2 separate regions of the Homo sapiens genome follow, and region 2 is linked to region 1. Evidence: promoter capture Hi-C in 16 types of primary human blood cells and fetal thymus (Javierre and others, 2016). All regions are on one chromosome and are shown on one strand. Each heading gives the region's core, a stretch centred on a gene start or on the middle of the fragment in contact. The rest is flanking DNA. Distances are from core to core; before and after follow the strand shown.

Region 1 (4,693 bases), core at 1,703-4,202:
CATACAGGTTTAATGAATAAAATGTCCTGACACAAAAATGAAAGCAATAATGCAGACAAGGCTGCAAGCTGTTATGTTTCAAGTGTGTGGTAAAGATTAAGGGCATTCACTGAAGTGATGAACTGTGCAGAGAAGGACCTTGTAATTTCTTTCTCTAAAGGAAGAAGTAAAGGAATTTTTAGAGAAATCTGAAATAGTACTAATTTATCTAACTCCTAGGCCCCTCATTCCCAGTTGTCCCTCTCTCCCCTCCAAGAGTTTAAACTCATAAGAGTCACTTCTGAGGAATAAATGATGGGGTATTTTAATATAATCCTGAATATAGGTTTAGATTGAAAATGGGAATTGGGACCATAATTAATTATGTTGCCAAGTTTTTTAAACTTTAAGAAGACAGATGGAGGCAAATGACATTTTATAAGAGTGCAACCTTCTAAAAGATCATAGATTAAAACTGTGGTAAAACGACAGTATCTTTTTTGACATTTGATTAATCCCATATGCAGAATGACTGAAGAATTAATACGGTTTTGGTGTTTTCACTTTCTGAAACCACTGTAATAAGAGACTGACATAAACTCAAACCCCAGTATAAACACAGTCTGAGCGAAGGTTGCGGCCTTATTATCACTCTTAACAAACAATAATGAATAATCATACCGATCGCCCTCACTACACTCTGCTTTATATACATATTCCCTCTCGGATCCATCCATCACTTCTTTCAAGATAATAAAACAATTCAATCCCATCAAATCCCCTGCAACCGCTCCCTTGGGAGGGATGTTTTATCTCTACTTCTCCGAACCCAGGGAGGATTTTACTTGTTTGAAGGGGGCGGAGAATGGAGCGGAGTCCTATTTATTTCCATTGATGACTCCCCTGGTTCTCACAGGCGCTCAGGGACCGGGTGGGAGGAGGAGAGGAGGAGGTGCGGAGATTCCCTCCGTCAGAAAAGAAAAAGGGTTCAGGAAGCGAGGCAGCAGGAGGAGGGGTGGAGGGGGGAAAGAGAGGGTAGTGTGTTTGGGGAAAGCAGCAACTAAATGAAAAAATAAACTCTTCTTTGTGATTTAGCGGGATCGACAGATGAGAAGCAAATTTATCAACCCAACAAAGTTGCTAAAAAGAACTCTGTAAATAAATTTAAAGAAAAGAAGGAAAAAACATAACAACAACAACAAAACCCAGACATACACTCAGGTTCATTTCCCGCTCAAGGTCTTGGTTTTAGGGAGCCACCCGTACCCAAGAGCAAGAAATGGACAGCGCCCCGAAGGGGGCCAGGAGGGGAACCGCAACTTGGCCGGAGGGACAGCTCAGAGACAGCGTAGAGGTGCCCGCGGCAAACTCCGAGGAGCTGATGCGGGGCGGGTCCGGGGAACTGCCGGGAGCTCTCACGCCTGGGCCTGGGATAGGGTGCGGGCAGAAAGGTGAACCGAGAGCGCACAATGCAACGAAACCGCACTCCAAATTCAGCAGTTTGCAAAGTGCCTCCAAGAAAACAGCTGGGACCTGCAATCACTCGTTCGGACTCCTAGGTTATCGGGGCCGCGGCGACTCCGCTCAGTTAGAAAGGTAGCGCGGGTGAGAGCGAACCCCAACTCACGCACAGACAGGACGAGGGCACGAAGCCGAGTCTCCTGGCTGGGGCCGTAGGGGGCGTCACCTCGGTGGCCGCTCTGCTCTCCGGAAGAAAGTATGAGCCGGTCCCAGGCCACCTCGCTCAGCCCAAGGAAGTTTCTATAACGATGCTCGCCTACCACGCAGAGGACAAATGAGGAGCCAGAGCGGTTGGGGGTCGGGCCAACCGAACTCCCGGCCCCGGCTGCGCAGCTCCCAGACGCCCACCAAGAACTCGTGCGCTGCCTGGACCTCTAGCTTTTCGCCCTACACGCAGACGCCCTCTGCAAAACCCCAGTCCCGCAGACTTTCCCTAGCGGCGGGCGGAGGGCATGAACCTGGAAAGGGAGGCAACAGCCCTCTTGGCAGGCGGGCAAAGTAAGTGTCCAGGCTAAGTCCGGGATAAAGGCTCCGCGGCTCCCCAGACCCCACTGCACCCCGAGCTCCCGGGTCCCAGGTCTTCCCCGCCCTTGCGCTGTCTGTCCACCTCCTCACATCTCTCCGGGCCGCCCAGCTTCGAAAGCAGCTAAATTAAAAACAAACAAACAAACAAACAACAACAACAATAAAAAAAAAAAAACGAGGGAAACCTGCTCCTGCCCCTCATGCCCTCAGCTCCTACGGATAGGGCGCCCTTGAGAAGCTTCTTGGGCCTTGAAGATTTGGGGGCGCGTGCCTCGAGCCCCCATCTCGGATGACCCTTCGGGCGTGAACGCTCCTTGTGCTAGGTCTCAGGGTGGCGGGCTAAGGCGTCGGGTCTCTGGGGCATTGCTTTCCTCTCCCCACTTACCTTAAAAAGATCTGTTTTTCGTAGGGAAAATAGAAAAAAATCCCTCCCCGTGGTGTGGTGTGCGAAATAGTCCACGTCCCCGGACCCTGCCAAGATGCTAAGCACCAATATCCAGGAACGAGAAGCCTGGAGGGCGGGGACGGAGGCAGATAAAAGAGAAAAATTCAATCCGCTGAAGTGTCCCAACTTTGCGGTCGGCACAGCAAACTTCAAAGGCGGGCGAGGGCGGGCGGCGCGCGGTCGCCGAAGTTGCTGCGAAGTGGAGTAGGGAGCCGCGCGGGGCTGGGGAATCCCGGGGCAGCGCCGAGAAGCGGCGGGAGGTCCTTTTAAACTGCAGGGAGCGTGCGGGGGCTGGGCGGCGGGAGGATGCCGCAGCGACCCGCGGGGCTGGCGCGGGCTTCGCCGGCCGCCGCTAGTCGCACAGGCGCCTGGCTGGAGCGCCGCGCGGGGTGCTGGGAGAGCCGGGCGCACGGGGCGGCAGCGGCCGTGGCGGGTGCGCTGCTCAGTTAGCTCCACTCTCTCGCGGCTGGAAGTGGGGAGTGTGTGTTCGCTCCCGAGTGTCACTGCTGAAGCCCGGAGTCTCTTCCCCTCCCAGCCCTAACCCCTCCCGCCTCACCGCTGCCCGCCCGCCCCCTCCCTCCTCTGCCCGTTGCCTCCCCCTCCGTCCCTCCTTCTCTCCCTCCCGCTGCGCGCCAGCGCGCACGCACACACACACACACACACACACACTCATACACATACACACACTCACACACAGACACCCTCTCCCTCCTTTTCTCTCTCCCTGTAGCCCTCCCTCCCTCTCTTTCTCTCACACACACACCACCCTGCTCAGCGACCCAGCGCTCCCCAAACAGGACCCTCGCGGGCGGCATCGCGAGGGACACGCTGCTGTCCTAACCTTAGCGCCACTCGGGGAGAATGAAGGAGGCCCACCGAGCCCCCGACAAAGCTGCAAAACCCAGGAGACGCGCACGCGGGACCATCACACTGTCAAGCAGACCGGGGTGCACAATAGAGGGAAACTCTGGGGTTGATCTGGGGGCAGGGAGGGGGACGTGTTAAATCCAGAAGGTTGGTGGTTGGAGGCGGAAAGCAGAGTGTGCAAACTGTGCATTCATGTCCCACTTTTCACCCGAACGCCTGCCTATCACAGCCTTCACTCAGGGAGCGCTTCCCCCTCGGCGCAGACCGAGCCTCCTCCGATTTGAAACTCAGCAGCTGTTTTAACAATTGAAAAAGCGGCCCTACAGGACCAGTGAAACGGAGCAGAGTGTGTGAAGCCATTAAGGCTGACTAGGTAATTATGATAAAAAGTTACCTAATTAGCAACCTGGCCTGGGCTTAGGAAAACCAAGAAAAAAAAAGTACCGAATGATTTGGTGATCTCATTTTTGCAACTGAGAACCTGATTTCCAGCAAACCTGGTTTTATATAAGTTCTAATAATATATAATTATTTATTAAGATATAGTGTCAGTATTGAAAACACTAGTTCTGTTATTGCCACAATGAAATTAAGGTAGGTAGGATGAAAATCAGCCTTATCCCGGTCATATTAAGAACTATGATCTTTTTTGCTAAACAGTTGGTCACAGAGGGTGGACCAATGCAGCTCCTAAAGTTTTGTGGTTCCTAGATGAAAACACTGCAGGAAATGGATTTATAAAACCGTTTACACGACATAAAATAGTTTTGTAAAATTTTTAAACACTGAAAAGGACATTTCAGATCACTGTGCAAGCATATTTTTTGCAGATGAGACAATGAGGTGAGAAAAGTCCTCATTGTATCTCCACTTAGGAGATACGATCTAGAGCAGATCCCTGGGTCATTCATTAACAAAGCTTACGAAGTCCCTGCTGTGTACCAGGTATGTCTTATGTGCTGAGATTTAGAGGTGATGGTGCTGCCTTTAAGGAACTCACCGCCTGGTGAGGAGACAGAGGCATAAATGAAAATGTGATTAGCACTATAATAAGTGCAGGTACCTGGTCCTGTGGAAGCATGGAAAAGGAAACAGCTAACTCCCCTTCAGAAGCTTCTCTTGGTAGAGATTTCAGTGTAGAGTTCTGAAAGACAAGGAAGAAATACAAGGCCAACAAGGATGTGGTGGAGGGGGGAGGGCATTCCACAAACAGAAGCAAGTGAAGAGGTTAGGAAAGTGTCAAAGTACATGGTGTGTCCTGGAAACTAGGAGACTAGGTGCGGCTAGACTGCAGGTGAAGTAAGCAAGGCCAAGCCACACAAGGCTCTCTGGGTGTAAGGAGCCAGAACTTGCCTG
Region 2 (4,839 bases), core at 486-2,985, 360 kb before region 1:
TAACCAGAGAGACATACATCTGCCCACCAACTAGCCTAAGAAGTCCAACCTTTTCAATACAGGTGCCGCTCTCAATTGCCTCCTCCCCCACCACCTGCAGCACTCTCCCATCTCCTCAGGGATGACAGCTCCCTCAGATATGTTAAGTACCATTCCCTTGCCTTTCTCTACATTGTTACTACCTATGTATGAATGGAACCTTAAGATAGAGTATTATTTTGCCATTTGAAAGTATGTAAATACTATCATTCCGTATCCACTTTTTGTGTGTGTTCTGTTGAGATGTACTTTATCATTGTTCAACATTATCCTCACAAGTTTCTAGTCCTCGCTTTCATTTTTGTGAACATATGTAGCTCATATTTACTAATTTTCAATGTTGGGCATATGACATTAAATAGCTGTATACCACAATTTATTTATATACATTCTCCAGTGATGGATAGCTAAGTTATTCCCAGTTGTTCACTCTTATAAATAATGTTCCTCTGAAAAAATCTTGTACACTTGAATATAGGTGAAAGCAATTCTCTAAGGCATGTGTACCTAGATGTGGGACTGAATCTTCAACTTTTCTATGAATAAACAAATAACTCTGCAAAGTTAATAAACCAAGCTAATAAACCATTTTATACTCCAATATTCACTGTATCCTTGTGATTCTATCACTTTATTTTAGATGTTTTGAGACTTTCATTAGGTATGTAAGTATATACAAATTTTAAACTATTATGCTATTGGAAAATAGAACCTTTTATCATTTTGACATGACCTTTTCTATCTGTAATAATTCTTTTTTACCTTGAAATTAATATGACTGCCATATAGCTATAAAAGCTTTTTAAAATTAGTATTTGCCTGCTATACTCATCTTTTTGCTTTCAAACAGCCTATATCCTTATGCATGGGCAGTGACTTTTATAAACAGCATATGACTAGATTTTTTTAACCCAAGCTTTTTTGTGATCCAAAGATTACTTCTATCTAAGATGGCAAGTTTTGCCTCTTTACAAATTTGTGATTACTGATATACTTGACTATATTTCCAACATTTATTTTGTGCACTACTATTATCCTATTTGTTTTACAAGTTTTTCCCATATATTTTATTACATGTTTTAGATTGATCCTTTCCCCTGGTACTACTTTAAAAGTTATTATCTCTATTTCTTTCCTTTTAATGGTTATCCTTAAAATATTTTACTTTGTATGTTTAAAACTAAAGTTTATCCATATGTTTTATCTCCTACTGAATAATACAGGTACTGTAGAACGATCCTCTTACACTTAGAGCAGTATTTTATTTATATCTTGATTTTTAATGCTTGTCTTAGTCATTTTGAGCTGCCGTAATAAAATACCATACACTGGGTCACTATAAACAACAGACATTTATTTCTCACCATTCTGGAGGTTAGAAGTCTAAGGTCAGGGTGTCAGCCTAGTCAGGTTCACATGAGGGCCCTTTTCTGGGTTGTGAATTCCCTGTCCTCACATGGTGGAAGGAAAGTACTCTGGTCTCTTCAGTTCCTTATAAGCGCACTAATCCCATTCATGACAGCTATACCCTCATGACCCTATCAGCTCCCAAAGGTCCCACTCTCTAATACCATCACACTGATGGTTAGGATTTCACATAAGAATTTGGGGAGAATGCAAATATTCAGTCCATTGCAATGCCTAATATGAAATCATTATCATTTTATATAATCAACGTGATTTAGCTTTACACATGATTAACAATTTCTTTACTTTTCAGGCTTTTTTATGTATCTGATTTTCCAAGGATCTGTTGGTGGCAAATTGTTTTTGACTGAATATGACTACTTTTCTCATTTGTTGTTGAATGAAAGTCTACAAATCCAATGAGATATATAATAGACTAATTTTACTCTTCATATTTCTTAATATCTCTTTAACATTTCCATCTCTTTCTGTTGTACTCTAATTTCTTAAAGTCAATTGATTTTAAAAATCAGTTGATCAATTCTCTTTTCAGCTTGCTGTTTAATGGGACCCTAGGGCTTTTAATTTCTGTTATCATATTTTTAACCTTTAGAAGTTTTATTTGCTTATTTCCCAATTCCATTTTTGATACAATCTCATTTTTCTCATAAGCAACGCATGTTGTTTATGCCTATTTGAAAATATTCTAGGCATTTATATAATTTACTTTATCTGATAAAGCATTATCTTAAGATGTCTGGAAGTCTAGTTCTCTTTTTTGTGGTTTCTCCTGTCTCCTGCTCGTGGCTTTTGTTTCCTTGGGTGTCTGGGATTTGAAATAGTGAGGACACGTTTGGTGGTCTTTATCTGTTAAAATCCTGTGACCCCTAGGTTGAGGGTAAGTCCCTCCAGACAGCATTTGTGTTTGCTGCTGCCAGGCACTCTGGGATGCTATCAATCAAAGACTGTTTTAAGTTGATTTATTGCCTTAGGGTTTTCTGGTGAGGCAGATATTGTAAGTCTGAACTCCACACTTGAGGGAAGGATTGCGGTTATAAACTCTAAGAAGAAAGCTTTCCCTAGCCAGCAATTACTCCAAAACAGTTAAATGTCTCAAGTACCAACCTTTACCAAAGGCAGATTATGTCTAGTCCCCAATTTTATTTTGAGCATAGCATTTCTAGAGTCCAAGAATAAAAGTGGTATGGGATTCCATCTTGCCCTATAATCTGAACATACAGTTTGTCTCATTTTCCCTGACACCATGAAAAATCAAGTCTTGAGATTACCCTACAGGTGCTGCATCCTCAACTTGAACTTATCACTCACTTTCAGCTCCATTTTTGTTCATTGAATCCTGAGGGCTATCATTACTTTTTTTACAAGTTCAGATGTTTTCTGTTTGCTTTGTTTTATCCAGCATTAATAAGTGCTCCTTATAGGGCCTTTTTTCCGGGATATGGAGTATCTACCATGTTGCCAGAAATGAAAGTAACTATGTGTGTAATTTTAAAGATGTAAAAAAATATGTTTAATGAGTCTTCCCCAGTCATCAGGAAAAATGTTCAATTTTCTTTGCAGTCCAAAAAATATAATGTGCTTTCCCCTCTAGTCTGAATAAACATAATGTCTTTTCACAACTTCAAATATTTCTTCAAATATTCCACAGTTTTTCAAAAACTTGAAAATGAAAAGGTAGTTTTAAGTATTTGGATCAGAATTTGTTTGAAGTTGCTGGGATTTCTTATTAAGGCTTGTATTATATCCAAATATTCTACTTAAACTTTTATTTTAAAAAAACATACAAAGACATTATTATGAAGTATATGAGAAGAAACAAAAAGCTTAATCCCTACACTTTACTTGTAAGACCAGAAGTTGTGAAGACATGATGGGCATGGCACCATGGCAGCTGCCAATGACAGGTGAGGGTTTTGCAGAGAACATCCTAAGACAGAACTGTCAAAATGCCACCCTAAGAGCAAGAAGAGGTATCAGGGAAGAAAAGGCAATGAAAATCAAGACCTGGGCACCAAAGATTAAGAACAACCCTTTTACTCCTTCCCAAATTTCCTCTTAGGAGACACTATCTGGGTGAGTATCCTAGACATTGCTCATACAGATGCTTAAAAGACTGACTCCCTGCTAGTATACTGAGATTCTGGTGAGGCATGAGGGCTTTGCAGTTATCACAAGAGGTTTAAAAATGCAAACACGTATTAATCATTGCTTTAGCTGAATAATGTCTTATATACTTACACACACACATTATCCACTCACATACTGATATTTTTCACATGTTTATACATGCTATTGCTGATTAATTTAATATACTTCACTTACAAATGTCGTTGAAATTATATTACCTTTCCTTATTTTCTCCTTCACAATATACTACAAGTACAACAACCATGTATTTATATATGCATGTTGGCAGAAAAGTAAAGGATAAAATGTGTAGTGTTAGAAAGGTTCTTCCAATTAAAGAAGTTTGAAGAGAAATCCATTTGATTAAGTAGTTTTCAATCTGCCTGGACTCCCTCTTCTCTACCTAGAACCATTTAAAGCCAGGGAGTCTTTGGGGTTTTGCCCTAAGAGAAGCACATGAAGGCCCCACGAGCATACTTCTATGTTAGTCTGGCAAGAAAGGCTCTCTGTCATAACTAAGTATATCAACAGGCAGCTGTGTTTGTCCTTCAAATGCCTCTCTTCTTCATCCCAGATCTTACACAGAGCCTGCACTATTCCTGAAGATATCACAAGAAGATATATAATTCATGGCAGATACTAGTCAGACTGTCTATAGTGCTCCTTGAAGGAACTTCTAATGCCTACCATGGAAAAGGATTCCAATTTATAGTGAATGTCATCAAAGCAAGTCTTAGAGAATTCTTGCTCTAGTAAATGGCTCTTATACTAGAGGCAGAGCCAAGAGGTCATAGGCCACTCACCTCTAAAGTTAAGAGAACCAAATAAACCAAAATAGAAGAAAATAAACGCATTTTCTTTCTCAGAGAGTAAACCCTCACATAGACCCTCCCTTACTAATTTCTTTTCATTACCCCTAATAAGCCATGCCAAAGAAATACCAATCAGAACATGGTCAACACAGTTAGAAGAACAGGCTGAGTGGTACAGGGGATAAGATTGGAGAGGCACTGACTTCTGTTCCTGCTCCTTTCTTTGAACATTGTGAAAAAAAAAAAAAAAAACTTCATTGCCTCTAGAGCCTTCCTGAGTGGAATATGTAGTATAAATTATACACTTTAACTCATTAGCTGAATTTCAGTAGAGAAAGAATGATTAGGTTCTTGATTAATTCTGTTTCTGAATGATTACATAGTTTAACTGACAAATAGCTTGTCCTTTGTCATCACAACTTGGGAATCATTA

Evidence for each region. The method cuts DNA at HindIII sites, captures the fragments that hold promoters and counts their contacts. A CHiCAGO score of 5 or more calls a contact.
Region 2: a fragment that was not itself captured here is called in contact with the fragment with the promoter of NDNF in region 1 in 3 of 17 cell types (megakaryocytes, naive CD4 T cells and naive CD8 T cells); the score reaches 6.3 in megakaryocytes.

Annotation. Positions count from the first base shown.
Region 1 is chr4:121,069,583-121,074,275 of GRCh38, forward strand. NDNF (neuron derived neurotrophic factor) reads right to left here and starts at 2,953. Exons shown (of 4, transcript NM_024574.4): 1 at 2,411-2,953. It overlaps NDNF-AS1 (NDNF antisense RNA 1), which reads left to right and starts at 1,780. Exons shown (of 3, transcript NR_187407.1): 1 at 1,780-1,998; 2 at 4,168-4,282. The HindIII fragment of the contact is 1,993 bases long and covers 2,262-4,254 here.
Region 2 is chr4:120,712,422-120,717,260 of GRCh38, forward strand. The region is part of intron 14 of PRDM5 (PR/SET domain 5); the gene reads right to left. Among named protein-coding and RNA genes, the nearest start is that of PRDM5, 210 kb to the right of the region's middle. The HindIII fragment of the contact is 1,564 bases long and covers 954-2,517 here.